Linked DNA regions of Homo sapiens: all the other regions are linked to region 4. Evidence: promoter capture Hi-C in 16 types of primary human blood cells and fetal thymus (Javierre and others, 2016). All regions are on one chromosome and are shown on one strand. Each heading gives the region's core, a stretch centred on a gene start or on the middle of the fragment in contact. The rest is flanking DNA. Distances are from core to core; before and after follow the strand shown. Region 1 has its middle 6.4 kb from the start of LINC02957. Region 2 has its middle 25 kb from the start of LINC02957. Region 3 has its middle 53 kb from the start of LINC02957. Region 4 holds the start of NFIL3 (nuclear factor, interleukin 3 regulated). Region 5 overlaps LOC105379829 (a long non-coding RNA gene). Region 6 has its middle 12 kb from the start of LINC02957. Region 7 overlaps LOC105379829 (a long non-coding RNA gene).

The links. The method cuts DNA at HindIII sites, captures the fragments that hold promoters and counts their contacts. A CHiCAGO score of 5 or more calls a contact.
Region 1: a contact is called between a fragment that was not itself captured here and the fragment with the promoter of NFIL3 in region 4, in 8 of 17 cell types (endothelial precursors, activated CD4 T cells, M2 macrophages and 5 more). The highest score is 14.8, in endothelial precursors.
Region 2: a contact is called between a fragment that was not itself captured here and the fragment with the promoter of NFIL3 in region 4, in 6 of 17 cell types (endothelial precursors, activated CD4 T cells, M0 macrophages and 3 more). The highest score is 11.1, in endothelial precursors.
Region 3: a contact is called between a fragment that was not itself captured here and the fragment with the promoter of NFIL3 in region 4, in 5 of 17 cell types (megakaryocytes, total CD4 T cells, monocytes and 2 more). The highest score is 6.6, in megakaryocytes.
Region 5: a contact is called between a fragment that was not itself captured here and the fragment with the promoter of NFIL3 in region 4, in 6 of 17 cell types (naive CD8 T cells, activated CD4 T cells, non-activated CD4 T cells and 3 more). The highest score is 7.3, in naive CD8 T cells.
Region 6: a contact is called between a fragment that was not itself captured here and the fragment with the promoter of NFIL3 in region 4, in 10 of 17 cell types (endothelial precursors, activated CD4 T cells, M0 macrophages and 7 more). The highest score is 10.2, in endothelial precursors.
Region 7: a fragment that was not itself captured here is called in contact with the fragment with the promoter of NFIL3 in region 4 in 3 of 17 cell types (endothelial precursors, naive B cells and naive CD8 T cells); the score reaches 8.0 in endothelial precursors.

Annotation. Positions count from the first base shown.
Region 1 is chr9:90,988,718-90,992,475 of GRCh38, reverse strand. No RefSeq gene overlaps it. Among named protein-coding and RNA genes, the nearest start is that of LINC02957, 6.4 kb to the left of the region's middle. The HindIII fragment of the contact is 611 bases long and covers 1,659-2,269 here.
Region 2 is chr9:90,970,013-90,973,347 of GRCh38, reverse strand. No RefSeq gene overlaps it. Among named protein-coding and RNA genes, the nearest start is that of LINC02957, 25 kb to the left of the region's middle. The HindIII fragment of the contact is 1,933 bases long and covers 932-2,864 here.
Region 3 is chr9:91,047,886-91,051,463 of GRCh38, reverse strand. No RefSeq gene overlaps it. Among named protein-coding and RNA genes, the nearest start is that of LINC02957, 53 kb to the right of the region's middle. The HindIII fragment of the contact is 492 bases long and covers 1,545-2,036 here.
Region 4 is chr9:91,421,977-91,425,823 of GRCh38, reverse strand. It overlaps NFIL3 (nuclear factor, interleukin 3 regulated), which reads left to right and starts at 1,992. Exons shown (of 2, transcript NM_005384.3): 1 at 1,992-2,184. LOC105376146 (synapsin-1) reads right to left here and starts at 1,791. Exons shown (of 2, transcript NR_188612.1): 1 at 1-1,791. It overlaps LOC124902209 (a long non-coding RNA gene), which reads right to left. Exons shown (of 2, transcript XR_007061661.1): 2 at 3,765-3,805. RefSeq lists a silencer at 1,655-2,054. The HindIII fragment of the contact is 22,022 bases long and covers 1-3,847 here.
Region 5 is chr9:90,927,427-90,930,788 of GRCh38, reverse strand. It overlaps LOC105379829 (a long non-coding RNA gene), which reads left to right. Exons shown (of 4, transcript XR_001746828.2): 4 at 3,040-3,362. Among named protein-coding and RNA genes, the nearest start is that of LINC02957, 68 kb to the left of the region's middle. The HindIII fragment of the contact is 2,049 bases long and covers 323-2,371 here.
Region 6 is chr9:91,007,187-91,010,779 of GRCh38, reverse strand. No RefSeq gene overlaps it. Among named protein-coding and RNA genes, the nearest start is that of LINC02957, 12 kb to the right of the region's middle. The HindIII fragment of the contact is 4,761 bases long and covers 1-3,593 here.
Region 7 is chr9:90,950,071-90,953,512 of GRCh38, reverse strand. The region is part of intron 1 of LOC105379829 (a long non-coding RNA gene); the gene reads left to right. Among named protein-coding and RNA genes, the nearest start is that of LINC02957, 45 kb to the left of the region's middle. The HindIII fragment of the contact is 2,119 bases long and covers 644-2,762 here.

The DNA.
Region 1 (3,758 bases), core at 715-3,214, 430 kb after region 4:
AAGTGGGATTTTGAAAACTGGAGTATGGACATAGGAAGAGATGCAAGCAAACTGGGGGCCTCAAACCCCTAAATTCTACCATGTCTTCATTGACAGCTGTGTAGGAAAGAGTTTTAACAGAGCAAGGCCTGAGAATGCTCTCCTTAGAAAGGTCTGCTTATAAGGTTGAGCCTTGGTTGATTTCTGGGAACTTGGATTTTGGGAGAGTTTCCCTATTCCCTAAATGGCAAAGGTTGCTCACGCTGTTTAACCTGATTGTGCAAACAATTTGATCTAGGCTGAGATTGATTTTCCTTCTGGGACTCTGGAATTTTGGTATGTGCTAAGCAGACAGTGGTTGTGTGAACAGCCCTCAATAAAAACCCTGGTCTGTCTCTCTGGTAGATGATATTTTACAGGAGTTGTCACAACTAGATGCTGGAGAAATTAGTCCAGGCTCTGTGACTCTGCAGGGAGAGGACTCTAGGAAGCTGTGCCTAGTTTCCTCCAGACTTTGTCCTATTGACCTTTTTTCTTTGCTGATTTTGCTTTTTTATCCTTTTGAGGTAATACATTATAACAGTGAGTACAACTGTATGCTGAGTCCTCCTAGATAATCACTGAGGTGGGGAGTGGTCTTGGGGACCCCCAGTACAACAGTAGAAGCAGCTTCTTCCCCCTGCCTGAGGTTATCCCCCCTTTACTGAAGACTTATGATGAGCTTTTCTGACCTAGTGACCCTATAGGCACTGCTGATCCTCCTCTGGACCTAGAGACCTATCGTGAGGCTCAAGTCCCAGTAGATCCTAAGGTGAAGTACAAGTTGTGACCCACAGAGAGGTGTGATGGACACCAAAAGAACTATGTGATGTTTCTAGCTTATAGTGACAGAAACCTGGGGAATATGTGTGGGAATGGATCTTAAGGGTGTGGCATCAAAGTGGAAGGAATATAAAGTTGTATCAGTCTGAAATTACTGATACAGGCTCACTGAGAGTATGGACTCAGTGTTTTAAAGTGATGGGTTAGAAAGGACTCTAATAGTTTGATTGGTTGACTGAGATATGTGTGTTAAAGACTCTGCCAGTGAAGTCTCAGAAAAAAGTGAGGAGCATTATAGAAAAAGCTGAATCACTTTAAACAGATTGCTAGTAGAAATCTGGACTTTAAGGATACTACTGACATGGGCCAAGAAGGAAGTGAGAAACACGTTATTGGAAACCTGAAGAAAAGAGATCCTTGTTATATAATTGCAGAAAGTTTAGTGAAATTGTGTCCAGTTGTTACATAAAAAGCAGAACTCATAAGTAATAAACTGGAATATATAGCTAAGGAAATTTCCAGGCAAAGTGTTGAAGGTGCTGCTTGTTTTTTTCTTGCTTTTTATGTTAAAATGTAATAGAAGAGAGACATATTGAAGGAAGACTTATTGAAGGGACAACGACTTGATAATTTCAAAAGTTTAGCCTCTCCAGGTGGCAAAAAATACCCCTAGAAGTCAGAGATGGATGCCAAAATTATGACATAGAGAAAAGGCTGAATATGTGTTTGTGCAGCTCTTTGCTGAAACCCTGGAAAGCTCAGAGGTCTTGTGTATTCAGCCACATAATGACTCTTCCAAGGGATTAAGAGTGTTCCATGTAGATCTTCTAATCAAACCAGAGAGCCTCTGGGAAGCTTAAAAACACTGGTGTTCAGCACTCCAAGCAGAAGCCAAAGATAGAGAAGAGATTATTAGAGAAAGATTTGTGTGTATAGCTTTTGTCTAATGCAGAGAAACCCAGTGAAAATACACACAAGGCCCACACACTTTAGAAAAAAACATTGTATTAGTGGAAATATTTTAGCAAAACAGATTAGCAGAAAATAAAGATGCCAACTAGGACTAAATGGAATATAGATATTACAAAATGGCAAAAGCAGACTGATAAAATTCCCCAGCTGCAAACACCTGTCACCTTTTGTGAAAAACGGAGCATGACTCTAAGAGCTAAAGCAGGAGCCCAGAAGTTGAAGATGAAAGCCCAGAGCAGCTGAGAGACACAGGTTACCTGGCTTTGAGACCTGGTGGATTTTGCCCAGCTGGGTTTCAAAACAGATTGAAACAAATGACTCCTTTTTACCTTCCATTTCCCCAATTTTGGACTTGAGTTCTATAACTGTTATTCTTTCCACCATTGTGTGTTGGGAGTATTGGAGAAAGATACCTTGTGTCTTTTATTTCACAGGTGTGTAGGTGGAGACAAATTGTGCCCCTGGAGCTGTACTTAATGGGTGACACTCAGAAGCTTTATCTACACCTGATTCAGATAAGTAGATAATGAGTTTTGGGCTTTTGAGCTGGTGAGATTCTGGACTTTATCTAGTGTGATAATGGGATGAGACTGTTGGAAACCTTGGGGAGCAGGTAAATGTTTTCTGCAAGTGAGAGTGAATTATGGGGCCAGAGTTTGTACTCTGGTGGACAGAACTGTAGGTGGCCCTAATGATCTCTGCCCCCATTGCAGCATCCATGATTAGGTTAAGTGATATAGCAAAGAAATCCTGCCTATGTGGTTACGGTCACTAATGAGTTGATGTTAAAATAAAAATATAATCTGGGTGGGCCTAACCTAACCATATGAGCCCTTTAAATATAGAGTTTTACATAGATGGACCTGGAATCATTATCATAAGTGAAATAACTCAGAAACGGAAAGTTAAATACTGCATGTTCTCACTTGTAAGTGGGAACTACACACTGGGTATGCATGGACATATAAAGTGGAATAGCAGATGTTAGAGACTCCAAAAGATGAGGAGATGGGAATGGGGTGAAGGTTAAAAAACTACCTATTTGGTACAATGTTCACTATTTGAGTGACGTGTACGCAAAAGTCCAGATTTCACCATGATGAAATATATCCACATACATGTAACAATACTGCACTTGTACCTCCTAAATCTATTTTTTTAAAGTGGAGTTTTATCTGATTGGTAGAAGAAGAGGAAGTCAGAGAGATTCCAAGTATGAGAAGTATTTGATGAACAATTACTGGCTTTGAAGATAGAGGAGGCCATGGAGCAAAGAATGCAAATGGCCTTAGGAGCTGAGAATGGCCCTTGACTGACAGCTAACAAAGAAATGGAGAAGTCAGTCAAGCAATAGCAAAAAATGGAATTCTCCCATCAACCTGAACAAGCTTAAAAGCAGACTCTTCCTCAGAACCTTGGTTAGAGCCCAGCCCAGCCAAAATTTCAGCCCTGAAAGACCCTAAGTAGAGACCCCAGTTGAGCCCACTTGGACTTCTGACCTACAGAACTGTGAGATAATGAATGGAAGTTGTTTGAAGCCATTAAGTTTATGGTAATTTGTTACACAACAATAGCCAACTAATAGACTCCATAATCCCAACAAACAACCTTAACTTCCATAAACAACTATTTATTGAACACTTACTGTACTTAAGGTATATGAAAGGGACATAAAGAGATAGCAACTATAAAAATGTAATTAGCTAATATTTATGGAGCAGTTCTACAATGTGCCATATAGTCTCCTGATTATGTGTGAATTATCTCATTTAATCTCCACAATCTGTGAAGGATGTAGTAGTTTATTACTAACAAAGGAGTAGAAACATGAAGGGTACGTAGATTGTCTAAGGTTTATTTATAAAACACGACAGACAGTAAGCACAACCAGTATAATTTCCGTATTTTCTGGGGTAGTGCTGATTTAAAATATTCGGTCTTCTTGCCTCCTGATTGCATTTATAATTGTCAAACCACATTCCTGG
Region 2 (3,335 bases), core at 649-3,148, 450 kb after region 4:
GGTTGCAGTGAGCTGAGATGGCCTCACTGCACACTAGCCTGGGTGACAGAGCGAGACTCCATCTCTAAAAAAACAAAAAACAAACAAACAAAAAAACTGAAAAGTAGCTGAGCATGGTGGCATGTGCCCGTAGTCCTAGCTACTCGAGAGGGTGAGGTGGGAGGGTCACTTGAGCCCTGGAGGCAGAGGTTGCAGTGAGCCAAGATTGTGTCACTGCACTCCAGCGTTGGCGACAGAGTAAGACTATCTAAAAAAAAAAAAAAGAAAAGAAATGAAAGAAGAATGCATGCTGCTACTTTCATATGATAGCTGACTTCCTAAAGGGATTTTTCCATGCCCATCTGAAGAGGTAGAATGATCTGTTTAACGAAGTGGGGACAGAGTCAAGCACTTCCCTGGAACAGGGCGGGGGCTGGGGATGTAAGGTTGTGTCTGTCCATTTATTGAAAAATGTGCCACGTGCTTAGGCAGACAACTTGCTTGGCATTTCTTTCTTTCTTTCTTTCTTTTTTTTTTTTTGAGACGGAGTCTTGCTCTGTCGCCCATGCTGGAGTGCAGTAGCACGATCTTGGCTCATGGCAAGCTCCACCTCCCGGGTTCACGCCGTTCTCCTGGCTTGGCATTTCTATAGCAGTTGTGTGAAATGTGATTCTTCCTTTCTCACTTCTCACCCCTATAATTTTCATTTGCTTATGAGACTTTTTGAGGTCTAGCTACCCCTGTGCTCAGACAAGTGGCCTACATATGTTCAGTTAAAGGGGGACCCAGTTGCCCAGAGACAAGCCCTCCGACCAGAGGGAGCCACAGTTCCTGGGTGGGCTCATGAGTAATGCAGCTTTGTGTCCTGCTCTGCCCCTCCAGAGCTTGGAGACCACCCCAGCTCCCTTTCTGCTACTGGTTCCAGTTTCTTTTTTCCTGTGGGTCATAAGCTTTCTACCGCTCATGAAACAAAAGGGGTAAAAAGGTTTCTGGCTGTCAGTTTTTCATTTTTTTCTGGTGAGACAGTTTCATAGTTGCCATAGGTGGGGGGTGGAAACTAGCCTTGTTGGTGATGCTAGTTCTGCTTTTCTTTTTTCTTTTTTAACTACGAAAGAACTTGATTTCTGATTCTTGGTAGCAGAGCCTTTCTGCCTGAATGGCAGGCGTGGCCAGGACTCTCATCTATGCTTGCACCTGTAAGACAGGACACCAGGATCCCCAGCCTTGTGAGGCAGTGCCACCCTTGGGGATTAAGAACACGGGTGCCGGGGTGCCATCTGTCTTGGATCTGCGGGCTGAATGGGTCTGGGTGCAGCCAGGTGTGTGGAATCTCACAGCCTCACAGTGACTGCAGCACAGCCAAAGGCGAGGACAGCTGCTTGCTGTATCATTTCTTCCATCACACCTCAGAGGATGCGGAATCCTATTCCCACTCTATTCCCCTTTACAACATCCGATGTCAGCGCCTTCTGAGCACTTTGAATCCCGAGACTGCCTACGTAAATCTGGAGATGGGACTAAACCATAAATATTGATTACTTTTTTAATCACCTATTAACTAGATTCAACCACTCCTAAAAACCTAGCTGCATTCTCAGAGTTGATTTGATCAGCTCAGTTAGAGGGCACATATGTCCACACTGTGGGGCAGCCATTGTGTGATTGTTTCTTTGGCCACCCTTCTCAGCCAGCTCTTCACCCTCCTGATAAGAAAGTGCTGGAAGGCACAGGGCTGGAGCTGACCCACAGTGAGGCCTGCTGGCCGTCAGCCTCTCTGGAGGCCTTTGAAGCAGGCCCAGAGTGGTTTAGATTGGCCATGGGCACCAGAGCATTTAAAGGGACTCTGCCGCTTATCTTCCTCCTCCTCTTCTGAGCAAGATTGCAATATTCCTGCAGATAATTTTGCATTTTCCATGCCCATCTTCTTGAAGAATTGTCATAAGATGGAGGTAGCCTGGGCTGTCCCCAACCTGCTCTGCCATCCCTGTGGCAGGTTGTCTGGCTGTGCCTCAGTTTCCTCACCTTTCCACGTTGGTCAGGCTGGTCTCAAACTCCCAACCTCAGGTGATCTTCCTGCCTTGGCCTGCCAGCGTGCTGGGATTATATGCATGAGCCACCACACCTGGCCTTCATTCTTTACTGACTAAAGTAACCATGAATAAAAAATGCATATAAGCCACCTGTCCCATAGCAGGTACTTAATACACGGTAGCTATGGTTATTTTGTGTAGGTCTGAGTGAACATAGACCACGTTTCCCATCAAAATATATGGGGACAATCAAACAAATAACAGAATCCCCCAAGGAAGCATCCAAGTGTAATTCGATTTCTAGCGTTCACTGTTTATGTGAATGAACTCTTGTAATGCAGCGCCAGGCCTTTCTTAGCTACTAGAAAAAAATGACTTCTGTATTTCTAGGGTAAGGGATGCCGCTTTACACCCGGGTTGAGACTTGCCAGGCCTCTTATGTGTCGAGAACAATGGGGCTGGAAGGAGGCTGGCTGGGGTAGGAGCAGGCTGCAGCAAGTCCTTCCCAAAGCCGCAGGCGTTTCTCCACTCAGCACTGAGGCCATCACATGTGGCTGCCTGTGGACATCAGCAGGGCCAACGAAGTGAGTCAGGTGTTGAGGGATGTGTGTGTCATGCCATCATAAAGCCAGGATCAAGACATCTGCCCTCCCGGGATGAAGAGCAGTGTTATCCCTTAATGCAAAGCTCAGGCTCAGTGGTCCTCTTTCACGTATTTACCTTCCTAAAATTTCACCAGGTGCATAATAGCACAATTAATAGCGCTGCCTCGTATCCCTAATACTAACACCCTCTGCCTTGTAAGGATTTGTGAGTCAGCTATAAAATTTCACTGAAGATTGTTTTGCCCAAGCTTGATTTCCTTCATGCCCATAAGCTCTTAGACACCACTTTCTGTTTTTCTATTTTCAGACTGAATTGAACAAAAATATTTAACTTTTACTCAGTGCTAAGTCTTTGCTTTCACTTTAAAATACATGATCTTTTCCAAACCATACACATATATTTTAATGGGTTGTTACTAGTTCATACTTGATCCATATTTTGTAGCTGAAAAAGTCCAAAGGCTGGAAGGTTTGGTTTCCAGAGCCCTGGACATCCTTGGAGGCAAATGCAAGCCCACTGTAATGAAGCAAGAAGGGAGTCTGGCTGTACTGGGTGCAGCCTGGTGCTGAGGCCTGGCCCTTTGATTTCTATGTGTGGGAATGCTCAAGTTGTAACTACTCTAAGTGGAAATTAGGAAAATGGGGACCCTGGGGGGATGGTGATCCAAGTTGCCAATTGTCCTTTAGGACTGTCATTGTTTTTTCTCACATTCTTGTCTTA
Region 3 (3,578 bases), core at 541-3,040, 370 kb after region 4:
AACTTATTATTAGTCTGTTTAGATTTTCTAATTCTTCATGATTCAGTATTAGTAGGTTGCCTGCTTCTAGGAATTTGTCCATTTTTTCTGGGTTATCCAATTTATTGGCAGAAATTTGTTCCTAATAATGTCTTATAATTCTTTTTATTTCCATGGTATCGGTTGTAATGTCTCCTTTTTTATTTCTGATTTTATTTAATTGAGTCTTCTCTCTTTCTTTCTTAGTCTAACTAAGGGGTTGTCAATTTTATTTATCTTCCCCAAAACCAAACACTTAGTTTCCTTGATATTAAAAATGTGTTTCTGTTCTCTGTTTTGTTTACTTCTGCTGTAATAATTATTATTTCCTTCGCTTTGCTCACTTAGGCTCAGTTTGTTCTAGTTCCTAGAGCTCTAAAGTTAGGTTGTTGATTTGAGATCTTTCTTTTTTAATGTAGGCATTTATTGCTGTAAACTTTCCCTTATAACTGCTTTTGATGCATCCCGTAAGTTTTGGTTTGTTGTGTTTTCATTTTCATTTGTCTTGAGATATTTTCTTATTTTCCTTTCGATTCCTTCTTTTACTCAATGGTTATTCAATATTGTGTTGTTTAGTTTCTACATATTTGTGAATTTTTCGGTTTTCCTTCTGTTATTGATTTCTAGTTTTATCCCATTGTGGTTTAAAAAGATACTTGACATGATTTCAATCTTCTTAAATTTGTTAAGGCTTATTTTTGTGACCTAACATGTGATCTATCCTGGAGAATGTTCCATCTGAGCTTGAGAAGAATGTGTATTCTGCTGCTATTGGATGAAATATTCTGCACATGTTTATTAGGTTCATTTGGCATGTAGTATTGTTAAAGCCCGCTGTTTTCTTACTGATTTTCTGTGTGGATGTTCTATTTATTACAGAAAGTGGGGTATTGAAGTCTCCTACTATTATTATATTGCTGTCAATTTCTCTCTTCAGACCTGTCAACGTTATCTATTTAGGTGCTCTGATGTTGTGTGCATACAGTGTATATTTACACTTGTTACATCTTCCGAATGAATAGACCTTTTAATTATTATACACTGACCTTCTTTGTCTCTTTGGACAGTTTTACCTTAAAGCATATTTTGTTTGTTATAAATACAGCCACCCCCACTCTCTTTTGGTTTCCATGTGCGTGGAATATTTTTTTTCCATCCCTTTACTTTCAGCCTATGTATGTCCTTAAATCTAAAGTTAGTCTCTCCTAGATAGCACAGTTAAATCTCTAATCCATTGTTATTTAAAATCCATTCAGCTATTTTATATCTTTTGATTAAGAAGTTTAATCCATTTTTATTTAAAGAAATTATTGATAATCAAGGACTATTGTCATTTTATTTGCTTTATTTGTTTTGTAGTTCTTTTGTCCCTTTTTTGTTTTTTCACTGTCTTCTTTTGTGATTTGATGATTTCTTTGTAATGATATGTTTTGCTTCCTTTCTCTTTTTATTTTGTGTATCTACCATAGGTAATTTCTTTGTGGTTATCATAAAGCTTACTTATGTAAATCATCTTATTTCAAGCTTTCAATCATATACAAAAACTATACTCTTAGTCTCCCCACATTCCACATTATGTAAATGATAGCACAATTTATATCTTATATATTGCATATCCATTAACACATTTTGGTAATTATAGCTATTCTTTTTTTTTTTTTTTTTTTGAGACGGAGTTTTGCTCTTGTTGCCCAGGCTGGGGTGCAATGGCGCGATCTTGGCTCACTGCAACCTCCACCTCCTGGGTTCAAGCGATTCTCCTGCCTCAGCCTCCCAAGTAGCTGAGATTACAGGCATGCGCCACCACGCCCAGCTAATTTTGTATTTTTAGTAGAGATGAGGTTTCTCCATGTTGGTCAGGCTGGTCTCAAACTCCCGACCTCAGGTGATTCGCCTGCCTTGGCCTCCCAAAGTGCTGGGATTACAGGCATGAGCCACGGAGTCTGGCCTAATTATAGCTATTCTTAATACTTTTGTCTTTTAACTTCTATACTAGAGTTAAAAGAGATTTACAAGCTTTTATTACAGTATTACGGTATTATGTATTTGTTTCCATATTTGTCTTTACCAAATTTACATTTGCATATGCCTTCATGTTATTGTTTAGCACCCTTGCATTTCAACTTGAAGAATTGCCTTCAGCATTTCTTGTGGGGCAGGTCTTGTAGTGATGAGCTCCTTCAGCTTTTGTTTATTGCCTCTAATAGATTACTTTGTGAAGTACTTAAAATCCTTTATATACAAAGTCATATCATCTGTGAATATAGTTTTACTTCTTGTTTTTCTTTTATTTCTTGTTCTTGCCTAGTTGTGCCAAAAGAACATCTTTGTCTTTTTAAAAGACACATTCTCTAGGGTAAAACAAGGGTAGCCTGGTGCCTCATTGACTCAGAATTGAAAGGAGTCTTAGAAATCATTTACTCACTCATTCCTTTATTTGTCAAATATTTACTCAGTGGTCACAAAGGGCTAGATGCTGGAAGGACAGCAGAGAGAAGACCCCTGCCCTCGTGGGATTGACAGTCAGAGGGCAGGGATGTGCATCCTCCCTTTGTCCAGCACCTCCCTGCCTCCTGCCCATTAGTTGCTTAGCAGCTGGCTGGGTAATTGGATCAGTTGTCATGGTATTACAGGGCTTGTGCACAAGAAACCCTTATTTTATTTAATCATGGCCCCAAACGGCAAGAGTGGTGATGATGGCAATTCATATATGCCAAAGAAAGCCTTAAAGTGCTTCCTTTAAGTGAAAAGATGAAAGTTCCAATAGTAAGCCAAGTAAAGTATTGTATGCTGAAGTTGCTAAGATCTTTTTAAGAACAAATCTTCGTCCTGTGAAATTGTGAAGAAGGAAAAACAAAGTCATGCTGCTCTTGCTGTTGCATCTCCAACTGCAAAAGTTATGGCCACAGTGCAGATGAGCGCTTTATGTAGGGGTTGGTACTATCCGCGGTTTCAGGCACCTACCGAAGTTCTTGGAACGTGTCCCCTGTGGATAAGGGAAGACCACTGTAGTTATTACTGTCCGCAGTATAGAGTTGGGGATTCTGAGGCTTAGAGATGTTAAATGAATTGCCTATAAATACAGCCAGGAAGGGATGTCACAGAGAACACGTGTCCCCTGCTAGTAAGAAACTTTAGAACCCAGAAAAAGTTTTTGGCATTTCCATCAGAAACTCCATTGGATAACCTTTCACACAGTGACAGACTGGAAATGCCAATGGGACAACTCACACTTGCTTATGCTCTTGAAGTGGAAAAAAAAGTACAACAAAACACAACTCCTGCTGTAAGGCAGACCTCAGGCACCGAGAGAAGCCTGCCATCATCCTGTCTCTCTGATGACTCAAGTGTAGAAACGTACTAGATTTTTGGATATGTGGGTTTGATTTGTGACAAGTTGCTGATGTTCTTTGGCAACATGTCTACTCATTCCACTCAATTAGACAACTAGAAATTACCGATCAAGCATGGAGGGATTTTTGTGAAGTTTTTAAAGAGACTCAAAACTGAAATTTAAGTATGGCAGTAGGTTGCAAAAAAAAAAAAAAAAAGGAAAACTA
Region 4 (3,847 bases), core at 743-3,242:
TGTAAGGTTTGGGCAAAAAGGAAACTATCAGTAAATTTGAGAAAAGTGGCCAGGCACAGTGGCATGCGCCTGTAATTCCACTACCAGGGAGGCTGTGGCCGGAGGATCCTTTGAGCCCAGGAGTTCCAGGCCAACCTGGACAACATAGTAAGACCACATCTTGAATTATTATATATGTATGAGAAAAGTGGAAATTATAAACTAAAATCAGGATTTGTTCTCATGAAGGTAGTCAAGTTTGGAAAATGTGTAGTGGAGGGGATGTGGTTCTTGCATTAGTCAGCACCGGGAAGATGGTGTCGGGGAACACGCTAAGCCCATATTGTACGTCTGAGTTTTCAGAGCCTTGTCAGCAGAGCTGTACTACCAGATAAATCACGAACAAGAGTGCGTTCAAAACCACAACGCTGCCCTGGAAGGCTTTCCAAAAACTCAACTGATAGGTGATAAAAATTTTTTAAATATGACTTGCGTTATTATGATATTAACTGTGCAAGAAGGGGAAAGGTAGAAAAGACAATCTTGGCGAGTAGATAGATCTGCTGCTCATGGCAGACACTAGGGATGGTACCTGGGTGTTCACTCTGCTCTTCTCTTTACTTTGGTTTTTGCTTTTTAAAAACGAAAGGAGCAAAAAGAAGTGGAAAGTCGTGGAGGCACTCGGCCCAGCCCCCACGTAGTTCAAGGAGACCAGGAGGGAGCTGGCTGGTGGAGGTCCTGCCCACCTGCCACACTCCGTATTTGGGCAAGCCTGTGAGTCACTGTCGGGAACATGGCTCCCTTCGCCAAGGCCAGCACTGACCACTATCCGTGTATCGGTAAACGCAGGGAGTGTGCCACGTGCCTTGACAGTCTAGCGCGACGACTTAAGAAGTCGCGGCTAGGTGCTCTTTTTTCCATTTTTTTACGTCTCTTCCGTAGCCCGGGAATTTGGGAGAGAAGACTACCGTATCCAGTTAGACGCAGAAATAACACTAAGCAGCTATCAGCTCAAAATCACAGGAAGAGATCCCGCGCGGTCGTCTCAAGCCCCAGCACCAAACGACAGTGGGCGTCCCAGCGGGGGCACCCGAGCGCGGACCTTCACATCCTCCGAGGAACGCCGCACCCGCGTGGCGGGGGTGGGTAGATGGACCTCAGCGAGCCTCGTTTCCCAGTCGTGTTACGCAACAACTTTGCAGCCGTCATCTTCGCCCTAATTGTGCAGGGGGCGGTGTTTGTGCGTGGAGCTTTCCCTCCCGGCTCCGGGCCGTCGCGGCTCTCGGGAGAGGCGCCGGGACATTTTAATCGCTGCCTCCGCCGCGCAGCCCTGCGCAGCTGCCCGGCCGCGCCAACCCCTTCCCCGCCGCAGCGCGCCCCGAGTGTTGGCAGCTTGCCAGCCGCCACCCCCCGCCTTCCCTCCTGCCCACCCCAAGGTAGAGGGCTCCTCTCGGGAGTGTGCGGGGAAGGGGAGGCCGAGGTCCGGGCCACGCCCGGGTAGCCGCAACCCGCAGTGCTCAGTCGGCAACAGGTAGCCCAGCAGGCTGCGGCTCTCAGGAAGACAAAAAGCGCCTCTGCGAGCAAGTGAGGGTCGCGGGGAGCGCAGAGCCACCGCGGCGACCGGGAGGGTGAAGGGAGCCAAGAGCGGACGGGGCGGTGGGACGGGGGGCTCCCGGGCTCCTCCGCAGGCTCGCTCCGGTCGTGTCGGCCGCGTGGGCCGTTGCGCAACACTCGTTGCGCCGGGAATGGGGCGCCAGCCCTCGCGGGCGCTCGGACGGCGGTGGCCCTGGCCGGGGAGGGACGCGAGCTGGTAGTGGCGCCGCCGCGGAGGGGGAGCTGAGGGCGGGGAGGCGGGGCGGGGCCGCGGAGTGCCCGCCCCGGCCCGCCCCTGCCGGCCGCGGCCATTGGCGGCGGGCCGGGGGCGGGTGCGGGCGCGGCGATTGGGGCCGCGGCCGCCAGTCACGCGGGGCTGGCGGGCGGCGACGTAGCGCGGCGCTCGGAACTGACCTACTAACACACATCTCTCCGCGCGGCCACGGCGCCCGCGGACCCGGCGCGCCCGCCCGCCTCCCGCGCCGCGCCCTCGCCGCCGCCCGCCTCCCGCCGCGGCCCCGGAGGCCCGGCCCGGCCCGAGCCCCGAGCGCCGGCGGCCCGACTCCCGGCCGCCCCTTTCTTTCTCCTCGCCGGCCCGAGAGCAGGAACACGGTAAGCGCTCCGCCCACCGCCGGCCGGGGGCCCGGCGACCGCTCCCAGGGCGCGCTGCGGGCGGGCGGGCGGGCGCGGGGTGCGGGCCGCGCTGTGTGCGGGGTCGGGCTGTAAGCTGGGCTCGCCAGCGGCGGCGAGTGCGCGCGGGGCATTCATTACATAAACTTTTGCTGCCTTGTCAGGATGGGACTCGCCACCTTAAGGTGGCTGCTTTGATTGCAGCGCCTTCGCGCCGGCACGTAGTCCTGGCTGGTTTGCGCTCTCCCCCCGCTGCTGTTGCATAATGTCTCCTGATTTCAGGAAAATTGATGTTTTGGTAAAGAAGAGCGCCAGGCAGGCTGAGCCCTCTCCGAGCGGGAAGATGCTCTTTCCTCTCTAGTGTCTTTCTTTCTCGTTCCTTCTCTGGGGCTGGCGGCGTAGGGGGGAGAGGAATGGGGGGTTGAGGAATGGGGAATAGTCTTAATTTGCTTGGTGAGAAAAAGGGTTGGTAGCGTGAACGGTGACGGCATTCGGAGAATGCCTGCGCGGCGTTTGTTTGTGTCAGGGGCTGTGTCTGCACAGACGTTTTCCACCCTGTTTGTCGTCAGCGTGTTTTACAAGCCCTCGGGAAGGTTGTGGGATTTGTCCTTTCATACATTGCATAATCTGCCCACGGTGAAATGTTGGCAAGAATTGCGGGCTGATGTGGGAATATGCGCGTATGTGTGCAATGATTTGGTAATTGAGGCGCAGCGTTGGATATTAGATCGTTATTTACGTCTATATTACGTCCCAAATAAACAGGTTTTAAAACGATACTACAAAACCTAAAAGCAAGAATTGCTCGCATTGAATTCTGATCTTGGGTACTACTGGGGTTCGCCCTTTCAATGTTCTCAGCTGTTATTTTTAAATCTGGGACGAACCATTGTGACGTTTACCTCCCCACCTTCCTAATTTTAATGCATTCCATTCGATCAGCCCTTTTTCTCACCTTATTGTCATTGCTTTTTCAGACACGACAAGACAAATCACATAATAGTTTCCTGGAAATGTTGCATTATGTAACTGCCGAATTTGCTGGCAGTGAGCATAGAGAGAGGGAGCTAATTACGTGATTTTATAATCTTGCTACAAAGAAAGTAGGACAGTCTCAGCCTTTAAGAATGTCACTATAACAGTTTTTTTTTTTTCCTTAAGGATATTTTAAACAGGAAAGTAGACAACCGGGTAAGCATGGAGTTTGCTCATGCTGCCGAATGTGTGTCTTTTGCCCTAAATGAAACGCACGTTCTTCTAAATTTAGCCCTATCACATTTTAACAATTGTGGCCTCGCAGTGCTATTTCTGGTGTTTTCTCCAGGGCTGTGTGCAAATACAAGTTCAAGGCCATTTGCTGTAGTTTTAACTCCACGCCTTCGGAGACCTTTGATAAGATTGTATTTTTAGGAAGGCATTTCGCAGCGCCCGGTGATTTGCTGGATGCTGGCTCCCATTTATGTTTTTAAAGGACACTTTAGGAAACTGCTGTTCTCTGAGAACAGCAGGGAATGGCCAAGTGTCATCTTCTGTTCTTGGCTTTTGTAAATAACAACAGTAAGTGAGGTCAGAAGTATTTATTTACCCCCAGACCAGATATGACCTATGGGAAACAGATATAGGTTAGTAGATTGTTTTTTTGTCT
Region 5 (3,362 bases), core at 98-2,597, 490 kb after region 4:
TAGATTATTTTCTAACTACAGCACAAAGGCAGCCCATGGATTTAATTACTTGGAACCATATTTCCTTTCATTAAAGGGATTTCCTTTAAGTCCTAAACACGTTTGACATTCAGCCTATCTACTTTAAATAACAAGTGATCTTCTTTGTTCTCCAAGGTTGCTACAATAAACGTGTTATTTTTAGGTTTTAAGTGTCAAAGTTTAACATAATCTCTATTCACCCCCTGCTTCCCAAGAAGGAAATATTTTTGCATATACAATTATATACAAGCATATTCTTCTGTTTTACTTTATCTTTACACAAGTGGGACTTTAGAAAGCTTACTATTCTGTAACTTTTAGCACTTCTTTATCACTTCTGTAACTTTTAGTACATCTTGGACTTCTTTGCTTAGCAGGACAGATGATGGAAAGCCATCAGAATAGCAAGGATATATTGAGCATTTCTCATGTGCTGTGTGTTAAACTAAGCCCTTTAAGTGGATTGATACCTTTGATCTACACAGCAGATAGGAAGTCGGCACTTTCTAAATCAATCCTGCTCTTGGAGAAGGTTATGCATGTAAACCCACCTGGCCCCAATTCCTCACACTCTAACTGCCTGTTATAAAGCCAGCTCCTGCTTTATAACAAATACTTGTATCTACTTGGTAAGTGCCCTCTCATCTCTTTTCTTGTTTAGACTCTCTCCAGCTCCATTACAGGGACATATTAATAGATTCTATTAGTGCTTAGGATATAGAGTGCATAGGAAGAATGGACAGTTTTATAATATTATGCCTTTTATTCCAGAAAAAGATGGAGATTTTTATATAGTGAAAGAGAGACTGGGTCAAAGACGCCTCTGGGTATGTTGTTGGCTCCTTTCAAGTACTTCTTATGGCTCTTAGCACAAAGACAAAATTCCTGCCTCTGTGCCAGGTTTTTGCCATATGTCCAGCTTGTCTCATCCAATATGGGCACATGGCCCCTCAGTTCTTTGAACAAGAAGGCTCCATGCCACCACAGCACAGGCCTTTGGACACAGTGTTCTCTCGATCTGGGATGCTTCCGCCCTCTACCCAAATAACTCCCACACGCCCTTCAGATCCCAGCCTGAACACTGTTTCTTCAGAATGCCTTTCATGGCATATACTGGCATTACCAAAATTTTTGTCATTTTGATAAAAGAAAAACTACATACAATAATTTTATCTACATTTATTTGTGTTTGAGTTGAACATGTTTCTTGCCCATTTTTGTTTCCTCATAAACAGCTCGTTCGTACTTTTAGATCATTTTTATGGAGTTGTTTCTTTTTATTTATTCACAGGAACTTATTTATATTAAAGAAATCATTTGTCCTATTTCTTCTATATATCTTTCAGTTCAAATACCAGTTGGTTATTTGACTTTTACATTTGCTTAAGGCATTTTTCTTTCTCAAAAGGTACTGGTTTTTATGTAGTCAGAGTTGTTAATGCTTTCTTTTAATGTTTTTCGTGTGGAACTAAGAAAAGGCTCCATTTCTCCAAAGTTAGTAGTAGAACAGGGAACCAGTTTTGTTTTTTCTTCCAAATGGCTATCTAGGTGAGCCAAGATGAGATACTGATAAGCCATCTTTTCTAAGTGATTTGTTTTTTGTTTTCTTTTTTGAGACAGAGTCTTGCTCTGTTGGCCAGGCTGCAGTGCAGTGGAGTGATCTCAGCTCACTGCAATCTCCGTCTCCTGGGTTCAAGCAATTCTCCTGCCTCAGTCTCCCGAGTAGCTGGGACTACAGGTGTGCACCACCACACCTGGCTAATTTTTGTTTTTTTAGTAGAGACAGGGTTTCACCATGTTGGCCAGGCTGGTGATTTTTAAATGGCAGCTTAGTCTATACACTTAGTTGTCATTGGTTTCTGTTTATTTCTGTATTGCGTATTATTTCCTTGATGTGTGGTCTAATTCTGTTCCATTATCAGACTGTTATAACTAATGATGCTCTAGAACAGACATTGGCAAACTCTTGCTGGAAAAGACCAGATGGTGAATCTATCAGACTTTATGGGCCTCATAGGGTCACACACAAGTTTTTAAAAAAAAATGCTTTAGGGCCGGGCGCGGTGGCTCACGCCTGTAATCCCAGCACTTTGGGAGGCCGAGGCAGGCGGATCACGAGGTCAGGAGATTGAGACCATCCTGGCTAACATGGTGAAACCTCGTCTCTACTAAAAATACAAAAAATTAGCCGGGCATAGTGGTGGTCGCCTGTAGTCCCAGCAACTTGGGAGGCTGAGGCAGGAGAATGGCGTGAACCTGGGAGGCAGAGCTTGCAGTGAGCCGAGATGGCGCCACTGCACTCCAGCCTGGGCGACAGAGCAAGACTCCGTCTCAAAAAAAAAAAAAAGCTTTAAAATTGCAAAAAACATTCTTTGCTCATGGGACATACAGAAACAGCTCATGAGCTGGCTTGGCCAACTCCTGCTTTATAACAAATACTCATATATACTTGGTAAGAGTCCTCTCATCTCTTTTCTTGTTTAGACTTTCTCCAGCTCCATTACAGGGACATATTAATAGATTCTATTAGTATTTAGGATATAGAGTACATAGGAAGAATGGACAACTTTATAACATTATGCCTTTTATTCAAGAAAAAGAGATTTTTATATATTGAAATAATCTTCTTTTATGTTCACACTGGGGACTTAATATTTCCTTCTCATCACATGTTCATATTTCTTAAATTTATTCCTAGGACTTTGGTTTTTTAGTGTTATTCTGAGTGGCATTTTTCTTCCATTATATTTTCTAAAGAGTTGTTATTTGTATATCAAAAAACTATTTATTTTATATTAATTTTGTAAGTGCCGCCTTTTATTATTATTATCTCTTAGTGTTTCTAATTGTTTTTCAGGGTTTTCTTTTGGCTTTAAGTATATTGCCCACAATGAATAACAGTAAGCCTTTTCTTTTCCAAAACCTATGTTTCTTATGCTATGATCTTGTTTTATCGCACTGGTTAGCACTTCCTGAATGATGTAGTGAAACTGAGCATCTTTGTCTTGTTCCTGCGAGGCCTGGACCTGCTACCCCAGATGAAGCCCAGCCTCAGGGGTGAGGCTGCCCAACAAGTTCCTGACTCAGAGGAAGCCACAGCTTGAGTTGTCATCGATGTTGCTGTTGGCCCAGGGGTGAGTTGGTACCACCTAACACCCCTCAAGAGGAGACCCAGCCTCCTGCATGAGAATGGAGTATTCCTGGGAGATAGCATCAGCAACTCCCTGAACACAGACGGGACCTGGCAGCGAGGACCGCAGTGCCTGAACCCTGTGAGTCAATACCTCCAGAACCTGAGACTTCAAGTCATTGCCCATTGAGGGATGGACTGCATCACGTCT
Region 6 (3,593 bases), core at 162-2,661, 410 kb after region 4:
AGTAAATGAAAATGAATTTAACGAGACACATTTAGACATAAAGGAAGGCTGTTCCTCAGTTTTAAGGAGGATGGAACCGTAGAGATGCAGGCCTTCAGAACAGGGTTTCTGATGGCTCTGCCTCCACTCCCAGAGAGTCTCTCAGTGGTGCCTCTTCTGTGCCAGACCCTTCTGCATAGGCGGGCAGATGCCATAGCACCCCCAGGCCTCACACCCACTCAGGGCCCCTTCTCTGAGGAAGAGAGATGATAGCATGTCACGTGGACCCAGAAGAGCAAGGGAGAACCTTCCCCAAATCCCCCAGCACAGCACTCCTCACATCTTTTCCACCAGAATTGGTTCACGTGCCAATTTTTGAGCCAGTCTCTGGAAAGAGCTATGAGCTTAGACAACCTAATGTAATCTCTGGATTAGGATTATCTTTCTCTGAAGAATATGGCAGAGAGTTTATGTTCTGAACAAGTTTGAGATTTCGTTAGTAAGGAGGAGGTGGAAATGAATTAATTCTAAGTAAACAACAATCAGTCACTTGAAAGAAAACAAAGATAGACTCCTACCTTGTTCCGTGCACAAAAAGTCCAAGTTTAAATAATGTATTAGTTCATTTTTGCACGGCTGTAAAGAAATACCCCGAGACTGGGTAATTTATAAAGAAAAGAGATTTAATTGGCTCACAGTTCTGCAGGCTGCACAAGAAGCATGGTCGGGGAGGCCTCAGGAAACTTACAATCATGGCGGAAGGCAAAGGGAGAGTAGGCATGTCTTACACGACAGGAGCAGGAGCAAGAGAGAGAGCAGGGAGGTGCCACACACTTTTAAACAACCAGATCTCATGAGAACTCTATCATGAGACAGCACCAAGGGGATGATGCTTAACCGTGAGAAACCATCCCTGTGATCCAATTACCTCCCACCAGGCCCCACTGCCAAACATTGGGTATTACAATTGAAAATGAGATTTGGGTGGGGACACAGATCCAAACCATATCAAATAACTAAGTGTAAAACAAACCCATACAAGTATTAGAAGAAAATATAGAAGAATGTTGCCTAATCTTGGGGTGAAAAAGGCCTTGTCAAGCAACAAACAAAACTCAAAGGACATACAGGCAGACAGAGGCTGGTTTCACGATGGAAGTTAATCATTTCTATATGGCAAAAAAACAGAGAGAGTCAAATAGCAAGTGACAGGGTAAAACATTTGAACTATATGTGGAGAAAGGTTTAATATCTCTCATATACAAAGAACTTCTTCAGAAAAGGAAAAATAAAGGTCCAGTTGAAAAGTATCAAAGGATATGAACAGGCAAGAGAAAATGCAAAAAGTAAGAGAAAATTAAAACTCTCGACCTCATTAGTATGAGGACAATTAAAATTAAAACAACAAAATGCCAAATTTACTATCAAATTTTAACAAATTAGAGAAAGTTTATAGGATCCAATATTGGAAAGGATTTAGAGAAACTGTACTCCCTGATTTTACAGATGGGAGTGTGCATTGCCCCAAATGTTAGAGGAAGTAATCTGACAGTATCTGTTAACTCTATGATGGAGAAATCCCACTTTTAGCAATATGTTTTACAAAAATTAAAAAAATAGAAATATGCCCAAAGATATTCTCGTGCATTTATTGTAACAGAAAAACACAGAACACAATCTGAATATCTATCCATGGTGGAATTGCTGTAAAAACAATGCAGCATACATACTGTGCACTAGCATTGATATTAAAGGCGTGGGTTAAACCCTGAGTAAGAAGGCATAAGAAGGCAGCAGTGGTGGCATAATTGTGAATGTTCTGGAAACCCTCAACAAATCCAACCAGAGCAATTGAAATAATAAAAACTCATTATCTATGAATAACATAACAAAATGAGTTGATAAGGTGTCTCCCAAACCACAAATAAAAGCGGGTGGAGTCAGACCACAGATGGCAACAAGGCCTATGTGATACAGGCTGCTGGGCAGGAGGTGGTGAGGGAGGACAGGACACTCTATGAATGCTCCACACCAGCCAGCCAAAGTTGACCTCCTGACAAACCTCCACAGTGAAGAGGACCCTGCCACTTTGCTCTCGAAAGTCTCCTGTCTCTCTCAATCATCACTCGTTTATTTAAAAAAAATGTTGTTTGTATTTTTGTTGATATATCATGGCTATACATATTTTGGGGCTACATGTGATATTTTGATACCTGTATCCATTATGTAATGATCAAATCACGGTAACTGCAATATCCACCATCTCAAGACTATATTTTCTTTGTGTTGGGAACATTACAATTCTTCTCTTCTAGCCATTTTGAAATATGCAATAAATTATTGTTAACTATAATTTCTCTGCTGTTCTATAGAATACTAGAAGTTATTCCTTCTAACGATATTCTTGTACACATGAATCAACTTTTCTTCATCCCTTCACCTTCCTTCCCTTCCCTGTAAAAAGTATTTTTGCATCTATATATATGAGAGGAATTTGCCTGTTCTTTTCCTTTCTTACAATGATGTTGCTTGGTTTTGGTGTCAAGGTCATGCAGGCTTCAGAAAACAGGTTCCTGGGGGTTTCATTGATTTCTGTTCTCTGGAGGAGTTTGTGTAAGATTTGCATTAGTTTTTCACTGGGCAGCCATTTGGGTCCGGAGTTTTCTCTAAGAGAAGGTTTTAATTTATGGTGTTAATTTCTTCAATATTAAAGGATTATCCTTGTTTATTATTTCTTCTGGAGTCAGCTTTGGTGAGTTGGAGTTTCCTAGGAATTTGTTTACTTTTCTCTTAAAAATTTAAGTTTATTGGTTTATTGTAATTATCATCTTACTATCACATTCCTATCTCCAGAAGCTATAGTGATGTGCCCCCCTCCTGACCTCCATTTCTGATTCTTGGGATTTGTGTCCTCTTTTTTACATTGATAAGTCTTAGCAGGAGTTTGACAAGTTGCTTCTTTCAAAGAAAGAACTTTCGCTTTATTGAGCCTTTGTATTAGATGTCTATTTTCTATTACATAAATTTCTGTCCTCTCATTTTATTCTCTTTCTCCAACTTTGCCTTTTTTTAAAAAAAAATTAATTTGGTAATCTCATTCTAATTTCTTTAGATGGATACTTAGACCACTTGGTATTTAGTTATTTATGTTCCTTCATGTATCTGTTTAAGTTTTAAAATTTCCCTCTAAGCACCGTGTTAGCTGCATCTCACAAGTGTTTAGATTTTTGTTATCAAGTTCAAAATAATTCCTAATTTCCATTGTAATGTCTTCATTGATCCTTGAGTGCTTTAGAAATTTATCCCTTACCTTCCAAACATATGGGAATTTTCTAATTAGCGTTTCATTATTATTTTCCAGATTAACTGAGCAGTGATCAAACAGCTCCATGGGACAAGGAGAAGCTGGGCTCACCTCATGGAATATGGCCAAGACCTCAATGGGCCTGGAGGTGATGTGGTGGCAGCTGGGGCAGAAGCAGCTGGGGACCTCTGCAAACAAGGGGTGCGGGTCCCTGGAGTCAGGAGAGGCTGAATGCATCTGATAAGGGGCATAAATTGTGTTCAATGAAATATCTTTCATTAGTTTGGGGAAATCTTCACCCAGTATCTCT
Region 7 (3,442 bases), core at 454-2,953, 470 kb after region 4:
CTCCAGCTACAACCCATGCTGGGTGTGTATTTTCTATGTTTTCCCGTGTACTCCAGGACATGGTTGCCTAGGAGCTACATTTCCCCAAATCTCTGCTAGAGGGCTCTGGTTTAGATGCCAGCAGTTAGAGGCACTCTCAAGGTACATGGAAGGGAGAGGAACATGGAGTGTTCTTTTAGAAGCAAGTAGTTCCGAAGCCTCAGACCTTTGCAAGCCTCTGGGCCTTTGCAAGTTTTCTTTCCTCGGCAGGGAGCCTTTTCTCCCCCAGAGAGACACACTTCTCACCCATTTACATCTTTACTCAGATGTATCCTTCTCTATTAGGCCTTCCTAACCGCCTTATTCAAACCCACTATGCACATTTTAGTTCCTTTCCTAATTTATTTTCTCCTCTAACACTAACACTGCATGACCTACTACGTAAATACAGTACTTATTTATTTCCTTCACTAGGATGCACACTCCACAGAGACAGGCGTTTCAACCTGTTTTATGTACTGCTAGAATAATGCCTGACATAGAATAGGTATGCAATGTATTTGTTCATTGATCAAATGCATGAATATAGCACATTATTCCAGGCCCTGAAATTTCTTCTGAGCACTTCTTTAGGGATAACCCATAGGTTCTGGTTTGTCAAGCTTTTATCATGGTCATAGTCTACATTCTGCTATTTGGTTTTAGTTTTCTTTTTGAGTTAGGAGTTGGTTAAGATATGGGTTAAGAATGTCCAGATCGGCCAGGCACGGTGGCTCACGCCTGTAATCCCAGCACTTTTGGAGGCCGAGGCAGGCGGATCACGAGGTCGGGAGATCGAGACCATCCTGGCTAACATGGTGAAACCCCTTCTCTGCTGAAAATACAAAATATTGGCCGGGTGTGGTGGCAGGCACCTGTAGTCCCAGCTACTTGGGAGGCTGAGGCAGGAGAATGGCGTGAACCCGGGAGGTGGTGAGCTTGCAGTGAGCCGAGATTGCACCACTGCACTCCAGCCTGGGCGACAGAGCAAGACTCTGTCTCAAAAAAAAAAAAAAAAAAAAGAATGTCCAGATCATAGGGATTGTTTGCTTGCTTGTGTGTTTGCTTTGGCAGTTTTCAAATATGGCTTGTTTTTCTGATGCCAAAATCACACCAGTTTTTTAAGTACCTGAGCAAACTGTGTTATATAGTAAAGCACATCTCACATTCTGTTTCCTGCCCAGTTGCATAGGGATGGGTGGGCTGGAAGCTCAGACACACCACTTCCCCTGAGAGGCCTTCTCCCAGGTTTCTGATGCCTTCCCTCCCTATGTCTTCTGACATCCCTTTTGACCTTGCTCTTAGCCATTCTCCCTCTTATGTCAGAGTTTGCGGGTTTAACCATCTTTAGGCTCATCAGAGATGCAGTTTTCATTTCTGTTCCCTATATTCCTTGTTGCCATTGGGTGATTTGCCAGAAAGAAATATCGTTGGGCAAAATAGCCAAGAAATTAAGGAAAGGAAGAAAACAAAGATTTTGTGCTATCATGTTAAAACCAGATATTGTGAAGTTTAGACTACATTTGGAATAACTTGTTTTAGTGTACAGTTGATCCCCTCTACCTTATTGGACCCCCACATCTATCCTAGTCCTTCACAAACAACCTGAAGACAGATTAGATGTATTCATTGATGTCTTTCTTACAGCCACTATTTGTTAGTAGGAATGGATTTGCAAATACATCACAGAGACTGAGTGCTTCCTCCTAGATAGCGCTTCCTCCTTCTTCACTTGAAGCAGTTCCCATTAGGAGAATTATTGTACTTGCTAAGGCTACATAAACCTGATGGATAAATTTAATCAAGAAGTGATGAATTGAGGTGAATAAGGCCAAATGGCAATTTTTCTATGAAACTCCCATTTATAATTAAAACAAAAGTATAAGAATGGTTATAATTGGCCAGGCGTGGTGCCTCACGCCTGTAATCCCAGCACTTTGGGAGGCCGAGGTGGGCGGATCACGAGGTCAGGAGATCGAGACCATCCTGGCTAACACGGAGAAACCCCGTCTCTACTAAAAATACAAAAAATTAGCTGGGCGTGGCGGCAGGCACCTGTAGTTCCAGCTACTTGGGAGGCTGAGGGAGGAGAATGGTGTGAACCCGGGAGGCAGAGCTTGCAATTAGCCAAGATTGCGCCACTGCACTCCAGCCTGGGCGACAGAGTTGAGACTCTGTCTAAAAAAAAAAAAAAAAAAAAAAAAGAATGGTTATAATTATAACCTGAAATATAATTAAATATACATTCAATATATGTCAATATTTTAAGTAATTACGATTGCAGCACTTATAAGTTTATTTTACATTCTTAGAGGATAGCATCATTGTATTCAAAGTACATAGAACCTGGCACATAATAGGTGCTCAATAAATGCTTATTAAGTGCATAAATATAAGAATACATATAATCTGACTTATATCTAGTAGCATTTCATCATTTCATGTGTTTGATTTGCAAACCTACCTCTGCACAGTTCCATAGGGTACAATTTTCTGGAGTGTTTGTAAGGACACTGGGGCCACCTATGCCTTCATGCTTATCTTATTATTCTAGTCTCAATTTCATCTCCCTGACTTTTCTAATTAATATGGGGAAGGGCTTCCCCAGGGAATTTTGTTTCTGATTGTTGAGAGACAGTAGAATTCTTGACTAACAGTGGCTTCGTGTTTTCACTCAATGTTTTCTGCCTTCTTGCCTCACAGATAATTGAAGAAAATCCCTTAAGTAAACACAGCAGGAAGCTTCATCCTAACCATTGTCACGAGACTATTTTTTCCTAATAGACATCAACATTTATTTTTGTTATTCTTATTGGCCTTATTTATTGACACCAATTGTGTCTCTTTCTAAGGATTAGTAATCCTTACCAAATATCACACGGACTTTCTTACCTAAAACCAGCTCCCAGTATTTAAAAACAAAACAGAACACTTTCTTCCTTAGATATTAGATCAACAATGGTTTCTTCCTTTCAAAAAAACTCAAGTATTTTAGGCAGATCAGAACATTTGTCAGAAACACATTTTCAAGTGTGTTCTTATAGCGCTATCAGGACTGTGGAGCCTTTGCATACCACTGACTTGGCCTTTCTGCACTTCAGTTTGCAGGACTGTGAAAATAGGTATAATGATATGTTTTTCAAGTGTTTTTTGTGAGAACTAAGTCAGGGAATAAATAAAGCATCTGGCATATAGTAAGCTCTCATAAATTGTTAGTTCCCTTCTTTTGACAAAATGAAAGGACTTTTTAAGCACATTTATTTGTTGTTTAAACAGTTCTGCCAGCATCAGTCCTGAGGCACAGGCTAAATAAGACGCCATGATTTTCCCTGCATGGAGACCAAGTCAGGGAAACGATGTGGCATAACAGCTCAACCAGGCAGGCAGGGATCAGAGACTGTGGTGGGTATCTTATGGTGGCTCC